4 separate regions of the Homo sapiens genome follow, and regions 1, 3 and 4 are each linked to region 2. Evidence: promoter capture Hi-C in 16 types of primary human blood cells and fetal thymus (Javierre and others, 2016). All regions are on one chromosome and are shown on one strand. The core of a region is centred on a gene start or on the middle of the fragment in contact, and the rest is flanking DNA. Distances in the headings are between cores, read along the strand shown. Region 1 overlaps RMP64 (ribonuclease MRP subunit p64). Region 2 holds the start of ZBTB20 (zinc finger and BTB domain containing 20). Region 3 has its middle 6.5 kb from the start of GTPBP8. Region 4 overlaps ATG3 (autophagy related 3).

Region 1 (3,074 bases), core at 1-2,500, 2.1 Mb after region 2:
AGCCAGTGAAGAAACCTTGCTTGGAATTTCAAAAAAAGCTAAACAAATGAAGATCAATGTACAGAATAATGTGGATCTTGGACAGCCAGTAAAGAATAAGAGAGTCTTCAAAGGTAATTTGCTTTGATACAGCACATACTCTAGTAAAACAAAAAACAAATAAAAAGAAACCTTTTGAAAGTAATAGTCATGCATTGCATAGAAAGAAATTCAACATCTCACATCTTAATTTTGACTCATATTGATTAGAGAGGTATGGTAATACCTGTGCTTTCTAAGCTTGAGTACTTTAAGTTGTTTATTTGTTTCTGTAGTTGCTTCCTAGTTATTTGCTTGCTTTATTCCTTTATTTTGTGGTAATTTGGCAAGAAATGTCATGCACTTAAGAATTTGTTGTAGATTTGAAAATAGTATGCCTAAGGTTTTGTATCTGCAATTTTTCCACCTCCACAGAAGAGTCATCAGAATTTGATGTGAGGGCTTTCTGCAACCAGCTGAAACACAAAGCTACTCAGGTTTGTCTGGCTTCATTAAATTTAGCTTATGATTTCTGCTAATTTGTAGAGGATGCTTCTTACCAAGGGCAGAGATTGAATCTTTTCATTTTATCCCCAGCTCTAAGCTTAGTGCCTTCTTAGTTGTCAGTGTGTGCTTCTGAATGAATAGAGGCAAGGGATTTTTAATACATCTAGTTAATTCAGTTAATAGAGTACCTTCAGAAATATTTTAGTAGGAGTTTCTCTAGAATTTTAAAGTAACCGTAAGATCTGTTGTTAAGTATGGATTGTACTGCAGCTTAAGAGTATAGGCTTTGCAGTCAGACAGTTGGTTTGAATCCTGGCTTTGGTACTAGCTGTGTGACCTTCTGTGAGTTTCCTGATCTCTCCGTACCTCTATTTTGTAATAGTAATATGTGCCTCATAGGGTTGTGCTAGTTTTAATGCATGTAAAGCGTTCGGTAGTCTGGAGTATGGTAAGCATTTAATTGGAGTTAGATGTTATTAGCTACGGTCATTTTGGTCATCATCCTCATCATTTTGTCATGAAGCTATTCCTTTACTCCTGTTGAGGTTCAAGTTTTAACATGATTGATTAATGTCTGTAAATTCTGTTTGTTCTGGACCTAACAGCATATAAGTACATCGGCATTACTGTTTTACTCAGTAACTTGACTTTTTTTTTTTTTTAACCCTGTCTTTGCAAAATGTCTACTTCTGGTATTTTTCATGGGTTAGTTTACTTCTTTTATTTAAGAATTCTTAAACATATTTTCTTGAACTTAAGGACTCCAGCTTCCATTGATGTTCTGTCCAATTTATGAATTCAGAGTGAGGAGTAATACTTTCTGTGCCAGGCATTGTTCTAAGTGCTTTTATATGCATGAAGTCATGTAATTATATCACAAAAGCTCTGTGAGGTGGGCATGCTTATTACTGTTTTCATATTTCAGATGAGGAAACTGAGGCATAGAAAGGCCAAGAAACTGCCAGGCCACATAGTGAATAAATGGTAGAGCTGCGATTTGAATGCAGGCAGTATGGTTTCATAGTCTTTCTTCTTTACTATTCACCAGTCCCCAGAACAGTTTTTCAACTGTATCTCAAGAACTATGGTGCTTTGTGAACCTTGAAACTTCTGCAGCCTGTGCACCTGTTTGTAGGTGAGCTGGCTTTGAAGTTGGTGGGTCAGCATCCCTCTTACTCAAAACTAACTGCTACTATATTTTTAGCAAATAGCACTAACTTGCTTAGCTTTAAAGCAAACTACTTCTATTGATCACCAAACATAAACTATTGACCTGGGTCATTACTTTTATATTTTCTACTTTTTTTTAAAGTTCCTTTTGAGTGTAAGAAATTTGGAAGAAGGTAAGCTTTGAATGAAAGAGCAGATCATCTCGTAGGCAGCATATTTTCATAAAGAAATAGTAAACGTTAGTAAAATCCAAATGTGACTTGATATAGAAAGAAGGGGTTGAAGAAGTAAAGGTGCCTTGTCAGAAGATGGTTGAAGTAGAATTGGAAGTGTTGCTCAATTGAGCATTTTTAATAGATATTCAGCAGGCATTAACTGATTAATGGGCTTATTCTGCTGGGCACTCTGCAGGGCCCCATATCTTCCCTGTTTTCAGAAACATTTCTAAATTGAGGAGGTTTGCCCAGGATACGGAAATAAGTGAAAAACAAGTCGTGATAATCTGGTGGTGTAGCGAAGAGGGGCCTTTCAGTGATCCCCCAACCCTCTGCAATTAGGCTTTGACCAGTATTTAATCATGTGGGGTTTTTTTATTGTGTATGTGAGATATGTGTGTTAGGATATTTATGTTAACTTTCCTATGTCAATCTAATTCAGCTGCAGATGGGACCTGTCCTGGTACAGAGGGGGAACAAAACAACTTGTATTTGGAGCAGTGGAGAAAAATTCAGTTTTTAAAGACATAAGGAAAGCTTAGTGAGCAAAAAAATTTCCTTACAGACTGATTTTTTTTTTTTAATTTTTAGGTTTTGTGGGTACGTAGCAGGTATATATATTTATGGGGTACGTATTTTGTTATAAGCATATAGTGCATAATAACCACAGGGTAAATGGGGTATCCATCACTTCAAGCATTTAGGGACTGATAATTCTAATTTTTAAATTTTGATTGTGAGCTAGCTTTCCTTGTTGTCATATAATTACAAGTCAGTAACATGTCCAATATATTTTTCTCATCTTTCCACGTTTCAGGAGACCAGTTTTGATTTTAAATGTTCTCAATCCAGACTAAAGACAACCAAGTATTCTTCTCAGAAAGTGATAGGAACTCCTCATGCCAAAAGTTTTGTGCAAAGATTCCGAGAGGCTGAGTCCTTCACACAACTTTCTGAAGAAATCCAGATGGCAGTTGTATGGTGCAGGAGCAAAAAACTCAAGGCTCAGGCCATTTTTCTGGGTAACAAACTTCTTAAAAGCAACCGGCTTAAACATCTGGAAGCTCAAGGTACTAGGTAGGTATATTGCAAAAATTATGTTACTTTACTTTTTCTGTTGTTGTTATGAGTAAAAGTATTCAGGTCACTTTTCTTTAAAATGTG
Region 2 (3,080 bases), core at 345-2,844:
ACAATGTCATTTTCAAATCCCAAGTACAGTGTATTCTTTGCATGCATGGTATTTTTGATAAAGTCTCTTATTTTGTGACAAAATATTGCTATATCAGCTGCCTAAAAAAGTGCAACTTAGTTTGGCAGTAATTATTTTTTTTTCTTTGTATAGTGAAAAGCGATTTCCCCAACCCTCCCATCTTGGCCCTTGTAAGAAATCCTTTTTAGGAATCTATCCTGGGCTTCCTGCTGGACTTCAGCCTCATTTTTTTCTCCAATGCCTGAGTACTGGACCAATATTTGGTAAGAATTTGGCTCTGGGGAGTGCTATGTTGAATGACAAATGGTTGAGGACGAAGATTTTATTGAAGCATTTGAACCACACTTAATTTTCCGTGTTGCTTTATTTGTTCCTTTTACCACCCAGGATATTGAATTCTGTGGGCTCTGGTTGAGTCGTTGGTACTTCAGGCGTTCAGTAATAAGAAACATAATCTGCTTTTTCCGGCAGGATAATAAATCTCATTTATATTAAGGGAGGCTTACTCCAAACTCTTTTACATAGTATTTTTCTAAATCTTCTGCATGAACAAATTCTTCCTTGAGCCCTAGCACTGGGGACCCGGTCTGGCAACCTGCGCCCCATTCCGCGGGAATCAAGCGTGACCCGGTGCGGCCTTGCGCGCTGCCGCCAGCCAGACCCTCCCTCCGGCTTTCCCACCCACCGCCCGGGATCCAGCCTCCATCCCGCTGCCTCAGCTGTCCAAGACAGCGACACCCCCCTCTCCGCTCCCGCGGCTCCCCCGGCGCAGCTCGCCGCGCCAGACAGCGGGTAACCGCCGCCTCCGCTGGGGCATCCCGGCTCCACAGGCCCAGCGCGCTCCAGACACCTGCCTCTCACTGGCCACCGCCGCTGCCCCTCACCCCGCAGCCCTCTCGGCAATTGGCCCCAGGCCGCCGCTCGTCATCCTCAGCCTTCTCCTAGAGTACCGCCTCCGTCGCCGGGTCATTTAAGTTTATCACAAATAAATAAATAAAGGAGGAAATAGAAATGCGTAGAAAGTAAAAGCAGTAGGGGGTGGGGGAGATGGGGCGTGGAGGAAAAGGAGGGAGGAGCGGAGGAGTAAGCAACCTAACCTGATTGCGCCTGTGTCGACCAATCATGGCTCACTCCAGTCCGGTCTGACGGGCTCCCTGAACCAATAGCCTTCCACCTCCCGGATCACTGAACAACGAGATACGATTGACCTTTTCAGAAAGGGTGAAGGTGCGGCGGGGGGAGGGGGTTGTGGGGGTGGGCGAAGTGGAAGGATTGTCCACCAATCGCCTGTTAATACTTCTCTGAGCGAAGTTTCCGCGTCCCAATGGATGTTTGAGATAGCGGATTGGGCCTCTTTTAGCCCAATCGAAGGTGACAGAGATGAGGGAAGAGGAAGAAAGGGGCGGGGACGGGGGGGCGGAGGGGAGAAGGAAGAGTGCATTTTGTTTATGGGCGGCAACCTCACGAGGGGCGTCCCATTCTCATTGGCTCACTGAAGCCAAGATTGGCGTGAGAGCTATCCTATAGCGGGGAGAGATAGAGGGTTCGCGGAGTGAAGCGTCCAATGTGGGCCTTCTGCCGAAGAAGTAGGGGCGGGGGGAAGTTTAGGAGTTGAGGAAAGAAGATTAAAGAGCGCGAGGAGGTAATGCCACAAACTCTAATTTGTTGTGGGACGGGCGGGAGAGAGGGAGGAGTGTGTGCGTGCCGAGGGGGATGAGGCGTCTGCGAGGCGCCTGGAGTGGGGGGCGGCGGGACTGGGAAGGAGGGGAGCGGGGTGGGGTTGGGGGAGCGAGTTACAGAGCGGCGAGCCAGCGGGCCCTGAGCTGGATGAGCGCGCGCGCCCCCGCGCCCCGCCCCGCCCCGCCCCGCCCGCGCCCCCTCCCCCGGCGCCCTTCTTAGCGCCCGGCGGCTGCCTCGCCCGACCCGGCGGGGAGGTGGGAGGGAGGCGCGGGAGGGTCGAAGGGTGGCGGGGCGGGCGGGACGTCCCGCAGCTGGAAACGTGTCTTCTGCCTTCTTCTCTCTACTCCCTGCGCCTGGAGCCGCTGCTTCCAAGAAGAGGAGCTGAGGGGGACTAGCCGGGGCTCAGGAGCTGCTAGAGGCGCCCGCTTGTCTTCTGCCCCCTCCCTCCTCGCCCTCCCCCGCTTGCCGTGGCTCTCGCGGTCTCTGGAGCGTCTTCAGAGAACTGGGGGGCAGGAGGTGTCCTGGCCCCACAGCCGCTGGATGTCTCTCCAGACGCCGGAGCTCCCGGCCCCCGCCTGCTTCGCTTCTACGACTAGAGAGGAGGGGGCTTGGGAAGGGAAGACACACCTTTCCTTCTTTCTCTTCTTTGGGCCACTTCGGAAACATTAAAACATGTTAACACTTTTTGATTCCTGATATAAAAATGGTTGGAAGGTTCTTGAAAGTTTAAAACAAATGCCGTCTCTCGTACACTGTTTAATGTATTCCTGTCTGTGTGGCTTTTGGGTCCTCCCCCCACCCCCCGCCCCCAGCTGTTATCCTTTTTAAGGATGCTGAAGAGGCAGGAGGCAGGGATTTTCTAAAAGTTCTATTGATAAACACACTTGCACAAACATATGCTAGGCACACACACAAACTAAACATTAGCGAAAAACACAATATGGCGTACAGCTACGGTACCTAGCGCGGTAATCCGCTGATCTCTCACTCCGAACTGGGTTGAATGAGGTCAGTAGCAGGATGACAGCTCTCCAATGAAAATCTGAATGAATCAGGAAGTAGTTTGGAAGCTTGCGGGTGTAGTACTGTCCTCAGAATCAGCATTGGCCAAACCTAAGTTGAACATGTTACCTTTCTAGACATGTGAAAATCTTCTCCACTGTTTTTTCTATTAAAAATACCAAAAGGGTGCTAAAGTCAAGTTTCCTCACTGCGTGGCGGTGTATACATTTCAGCTAAAAAAATTATAGAGGCCATTCACCCAATGTTTTCAAGTGAACGCTATTCTGAAGTTACTGTTGTAACTTGTTGCCATTGAAAGTTTTAAAACACAATTACCATTTTATAAATAAATAGCTGTAGACACTAAATTTAAGTGA
Region 3 (2,878 bases), core at 332-2,831, 2.2 Mb after region 2:
ACAGGCATGAGCCACCACGCCCAGGCTTAATTTCTTAATTAGGGCATAAATTATTATTCTTGAGATTTATTATTTTACTATAATTCAAGAACCAATAGAGACCTATTTTCCATGATTTTAGTCTTTGGAGCTCATGAAAGCATTGAGCTTTTTAAATATCTGATTAATGTGTCTTTAGAGAATATATCTAAATTTAGAGAAGTTGTTTCTTTTTCAGAGAAGTTGTTTGAGCTTTCTTTTAAGGTTGTGCCTACTGCACTGACAGATTTCTCTAAAGAGATCTGGAGATTAACCATCAGACAGTAATCATAGGTAGGAGGTGAGTTTGTAGAGTGATTTGGATTCTGGAGGAGGAGTAAAGGTTCACTTCTTTCAAGGTTGTTTTTATCAATAGAGGGAGAAATGATTGCTTTAAGTGGTCTTAATTTTTTTCATTCGTAATTTTGCATTTGGCTCTGTGTCATACAAGTGCTATTAAAATAATTTGGAACACTATTTACCATATTCAGGTTGTGTTTTTATATCAGTAACAAGCTCAGAGGGTTTTTTTAAAATTGTTTTTGGAAAATAGTATGGATTTTGCTGTTCTGACTGATTAATTCGTTAACATTTTAATTCTTGTTGTGTGTTAAGCAAGGTTATTTTAGTGGGCAAGTTTACTTTGTAGTACACATCTAGTTTATATCTTGTTGCCTTGTTGGAAGTGAATGGAATGTTCTCTAACACCCTGAGGAGATGAGGCAACATTCACAGGCAGATATATTGATGTATATTCAAATTTTTAACTTATTCATAGGTAGAGTGTGTCAGGTGTTCCCAAGACTAGCTCCCAAATGAGGCGAGCAAGGATGCACAGAACTCAGCATATAGTTGTACTTATGCCTATAATTTACAACAACAAAAGAATACAAAGCAAGCCTGGCAAGGGGAAAAGGCACTCAAAGTGAAGTTTGGAGGAAGCCAGGCACAAGCTTCTAATTGTCCCCTAAGTTGCACAGGATGCAATTAATTCTGCCAGCAATGAGTTTTAACAACATGTGTGAAATGTTGTCTACTAGCAAAGCTCACCTGAGTCTAGGAGTCCAGGGTTTTTACCGAGCGCTGTTCATATAGGCATCTAGTGCCTGTGTGACTGACTATAGTCACTGAAAGTTCAGATTTGCAGAAGGAAAGCAGCATCAGTATGTACCACTTGTTTGTTCAAATAGTTTAGATACAGTGAGCCACTCATGAATGGAAAGTTGGCTCTGTGCCATGCAAGGAAACTGTTTACCAGTCAAGTTCTCAAATGTCAGCCCAGTGCCAATCTTGTAAACAAATCTTTCTAAGGGTAGCAGCCACAGGCCTGCTATATGAACTGTTTTCTGCACATAGATTAAAAGATAAAAACATTTAAAAATGAGAAGTTTCTCACCTGCACTTATTGTGAGATTGTATACTTGTAGGAAAGATGTATTCCAGGTTCTGCTCTAAATACAAGTGATTTCTCTGGAGATTTTTGAGAAAAGTGGGACAGACTTTCTCTAGTCATTTTAATAGGACATGGCAAAACTAGAATTCTTCCTGTGGAAGGAGGTTATAATCAAAGCTGCTGTCTCAGCCACCTGTAATAAAGTATGGGGCCTCTGGAGAGGAGTGCAATGAATTGGTGATTCAACTGGTATGAACATCAGGTTTAGCTGGAGTTGAGTGCAGCAATGTCCTTGAACATTCCCTCCAACCTCCTTACCCATCCTCCTCTAGGGGCTGGACAATCAGATTCAAACAATGTTTTGTGATTACTCTCTAGAAAGGAATAATGCCTGGTGTAGTGGTACTAGGTGGTTACCTAATAGGCAGGATCTCATGGGTGGCAGGCGCACGAGTGGTTGAGCCCAGAATGCTGTGATATATCTCTCTTCTGCCTAGACTAGTGCAAGTCAGAACCTAGCCTTTCACTCCTCTCTCTAGGTATCTGTTATTTACCAAGATAGCTGATTTTTTTTAAAAGATAGCTGATTTTACCATAATAGTATAATCTCACGAACTCACATTATGAACCCACAAGCAATAGAAGAAAAAGTAAGAAAAAGATAATTCATTCTAGAAGTAATCAGAATGAATGGACTTGGTGGGCAAAGAATTTAAATAAAAACAGAAAATATCCTCAGAGATAAGGGAATATATGGCAAACATGAAACAGGAAGCTTCTAAGAAGTACCAGTTGAACATATTAGATATGAATTATATTATTGTGAAGTAAATTTCTCAATGGATGTGTTTAATAGTTGAATAATATTATCAACTCAAAGAACAAAATAGCAGGATAATTAGATTGGAGAATATTTCAATAAATATTAGGAAGGGATAAAAAATATAAAGAATTTAAAAGTTAAGAGCTGCGAAGGTGAAAAGAAGAAATTTAAATAACAGTATTGTAAGAGTTGGGCATGGTGGCTTGGTCCTGTAATCCCAGCACTTTGGGAGGCCGAGGTGGGCAGATCGATTTGAGGCCAGGAGTAGGAGACCAGCCTGGCTAACATGATGAAACCCCTTTCTCTACTGTAAATGCAAAAAATTAGCCAGGTATGGTGGTGCACGCCCACAATCCCAACTACTTGGGAGGCTGAGGCATGAGAATTTCTTGAGCCTGAGTGGCAGAGATTGCAGTGAGCTGAGATTACACCACTGCACTCCAGCCTGGGTGAGAGAGCAAAACTCTGTCTCAAAAAACAAAACAACACAAAACAAAAGCAAACCAAACAATATTATAGGAGTACTTGAAAAAAATGAAGTAAAAGGAGGAAATTTGCTGAAAATTTCCAGAATTAAAGATACTTTGACTAGGAAGCAGAGCACTACTTCTTACAGGTTTCATTGCTTTATCATATTTAGCCAA
Region 4 (2,911 bases), core at 256-2,755, 2.6 Mb after region 2:
ACAGGCTTGAGCCACTGCGCCCGGCTCCTTGTGAGTTTTAAGAATGGTTTCTGTGCTGGGCGTGGTGGCTCACGCCTGTAATCCCAACACTTTAGGAGGCAGAGGCAGGCGGAATACAGGCTAACAGGGCGAAACCCCGTCTCTACTAAAAATATAAAAAATTAGCGGGGCGTGATGGTGGGCGCCTGTAGTCCAGCCTGGGCGACAGAACGAGACTCCGTCTGAAAAAAAAAAATGGTTTGCATAACTAATCTTTTCTCTAAAATTGTCTTTTGTTTTTGGTGAAGACACATGGTAGTATGGAAATAACCTAGGAGACCTGCCTTCTAGACCTATTTCTGTAATTTCTTTTTTTTTTTTAATTGATCATTCTTGGGTGTTTCTCGCAGAGGGGGATTTGGCAGGGTCACAGGACAATAGTGGAGGGAAGGTCAGCAGATAAGTGAACAAAGGTCTCTGGTTTTCCTAGGCAGAGGACCCTGTGGCCTTCCGCAGTGTTTGTGTCCCTGGGTACTTGAGGTTAGGGAGTGGTGATGACTCTTAACGAGCATGCTGCCTTCAAGCATCTGTTTAACAAAGCACATCTTGCACCACCCTTAATCCATTCAACCCTGAGTGGACACAGCACATGTTTCAGAGAGCACAGGGTTGGGGGTAAGGTCACAGATCAACAGGATCCCAAGGCAGAAGAATTTTTCTTAGTACAGAACAAAATGAAAAGTCTACAATGTCTACCTCTTTCTACACAGACATGGCAACCATCCGATTTCTCAATCTTTTCCCCACCTTTCCCCCCTTTCTATTCCACAAAACCGCCATTGTCATCATGGCCCGTTCTCAATGAGCTGTTGAGTACACCTCCCAGACGGGGTGGTGGCCGGGCAGAGGGGCTCCTCACTTCCCAGTAGGGGCGGCCGGGCAGAGGTGCCCCTCACCTCCCGGACGGGGCGGCTGGCCGGGCGGGGGGCTGACCCCCCCACCTCCCTCCCGGATGGGGCGGCTGGCCGGGCAGAGGGGCTCCTCTCTTCCCAGTAGGGGCGGCCGGGCAGAGGGGCTCCTCACTTCCCAGTAGGGGCGGCCAGGCAGAGGCGCCCCTCACCTCCCGGACGGGACGGTAATTTCTCCTAATGAGGAAATCAGTTAAACTATCCCTGCCGAGGCTTCATGTTTCCTCATCTATAAAATAACGGTTGTGGGCTAGACATTCTGTAAAGATCCTATTCTGCCTTAGGTTTTATTACCTCAAATGCCAAATAAAACTAAGTTTTGATTTTAAGGATATCATTAACATTCTTGCCAAACAGAGGTGTAATTTGAACATGGCTCTTTATCTGAAATCAAGAGCGGAGATGAAAGTATGCTGTTCTTATTGCACTCTTTGGTTTTATTTCCTCTGTGAAGATGACTAATTGTTGAATATATAGTTGCAGTTAGAGATGCAAAGTCTGTGGTCATTGGATAGAATTAAGCAGTTTCAAAACAGGAATTCATCCTAGAATAAATAACTGTTACACTTAATTACAACATCAATCAATTTATGAATTTTCCTCTCTAAAAAAATCCAAGGCCAAATTAGCCCAGCTGGCTGTCTATTACATAATGCAGGGTTGGGATAGAGCACAATTACAGGATTGAGTTAGAGTAGAATGAGCCTGGAGGAGGAAATGGGAAGGCATCATTTGCTTTGTGTAAATATTATATACTGAGTTGATTTGTTCATTTGTTTCATCTTGCTGTTTCTGAGTTTCTGCCAGACATCAGCTATCTTTTTGTTTTCATTCAGAGGTGTGGCAGTATTGTGCTTAAAAAGAGGGGCAGCTAGTATCTGATACTGTATTGTCAAAAAACAAAGAAAAAACTAATGTTGGATGTATGTATGACTTGTTTAAGTAGAATACTATTAATTGAGGTTAGCTTGAGGAATGGAATTGCTCACCAAGGTGTAAATATTGATTCTTGTTGGAGTTGGTCAGTATTATATACTGATAATAAAGATAATAAGAGAACATTTTTAGTCTCTAAGAGAAAGCTATTGCAAGCAATATTGATCATTTAGAAATTTGAATCTTGCATCATTTGAACACGTGAAGCAAGTTATGATGGCCATTGCTAATGAGGGCAGATGTACACATGTATTATCAGTGTGAGTCTGTGTTTTTTTTGTTTTGTTTTTTGTTTTTCGTTTTTCTTGCCTCCTAGTGTTCTTGTTTTTAAATAGAAGATACTATAGGGACTATGAGATAAAATGTTAGTCTTGTTACCTCAAGGCAATACAATGAAAGAATTTTTTATTTTTAATTATTTTGCTTTCATTTAGTTAAATTATTACTTTTAATGGTAATAAATTAGTTCCTGATAACCACAGAGCTAAATGTAGCATCTGGTTGCAATGAGCTCGAAGTGCTCAAAATTTGGGGAAGAGACTATTGTTTTTATTTTGGTTTTTGTCTTTACTTAGGCTGTTTAAATAATAAGGTTATTCGAAGTAAAAGAACAGAAACATAAAGTTTCTATCAGGAATCCAGTTGCTATATCTTGTTAATGTTTCATCTTAAAAGAGGTTATTCTTAGAATTCTTATTTGATAGAATTATATGCTCAAATTAAACTAGAGTATTTTATATAGGCATACTTTCTCAAAGGTATTAGAGATTAAATATTTTGTAATTTTTTGCTGTGTAGTAAACCCATGAACAATACAAGATTTTAAGCTAGAGCTGTTGCAAAATAGAAGTAATTTGGCAAGTATGTGGGTGTCACATGCGTCCATGTGTAGAGACCACCAAACAGGCTTTGTGTGAGCAACAAGGCTGTTTATTTCACCTGGGTGCAGGCGGGCTGAGTCCGAAAAGAGCAAAGGATGGTGAGATTATCATTAGTTCTTATAGATTTTGGGATAGGCAGTGGAGTTA

Evidence for each region. The method cuts DNA at HindIII sites, captures the fragments that hold promoters and counts their contacts. A CHiCAGO score of 5 or more calls a contact.
Region 1: a fragment that was not itself captured here is called in contact with the fragment with the promoter of ZBTB20 in region 2 in 1 of 17 cell types (neutrophils); the score reaches 5.2 in neutrophils.
Region 3: a fragment that was not itself captured here is called in contact with the fragment with the promoter of ZBTB20 in region 2 in 1 of 17 cell types (neutrophils); the score reaches 5.2 in neutrophils.
Region 4: a fragment that was not itself captured here is called in contact with the fragment with the promoter of ZBTB20 in region 2 in 1 of 17 cell types (neutrophils); the score reaches 5.5 in neutrophils.

Annotation. Positions count from the first base shown.
Region 1 is chr3:113,008,084-113,011,157 of GRCh38, reverse strand. RMP64 (ribonuclease MRP subunit p64) reads left to right here. Exons shown (of 9, transcript NM_015412.4): 6 at 1-113; 7 at 454-515; 8 at 2,728-2,987. Among named protein-coding and RNA genes, the nearest start is that of NEPRO-AS1, 9.9 kb to the left of the region's middle. The HindIII fragment of the contact is 1,251 bases long and covers 625-1,875 here.
Region 2 is chr3:115,145,802-115,148,881 of GRCh38, reverse strand. It overlaps ZBTB20 (zinc finger and BTB domain containing 20), which reads left to right and starts at 1,594. Exons shown (of 12, transcript NM_001348800.3): 1 at 1,594-1,663. RefSeq lists silencers at 599-818, 1,379-1,548, 1,859-2,128 and enhancers at 869-1,078, 2,809-2,918. The HindIII fragment of the contact is 9,545 bases long and covers 1-2,773 here.
Region 3 is chr3:112,983,034-112,985,911 of GRCh38, reverse strand. No RefSeq gene overlaps it. Among named protein-coding and RNA genes, the nearest start is that of GTPBP8, 6.5 kb to the left of the region's middle. The HindIII fragment of the contact is 1,215 bases long and covers 974-2,188 here.
Region 4 is chr3:112,554,469-112,557,379 of GRCh38, reverse strand. All of the region lies in intron 2 of ATG3 (autophagy related 3), which reads left to right. Among named protein-coding and RNA genes, the nearest start is that of ATG3, 6.0 kb to the left of the region's middle. The HindIII fragment of the contact is 3,918 bases long and covers 1-2,911 here.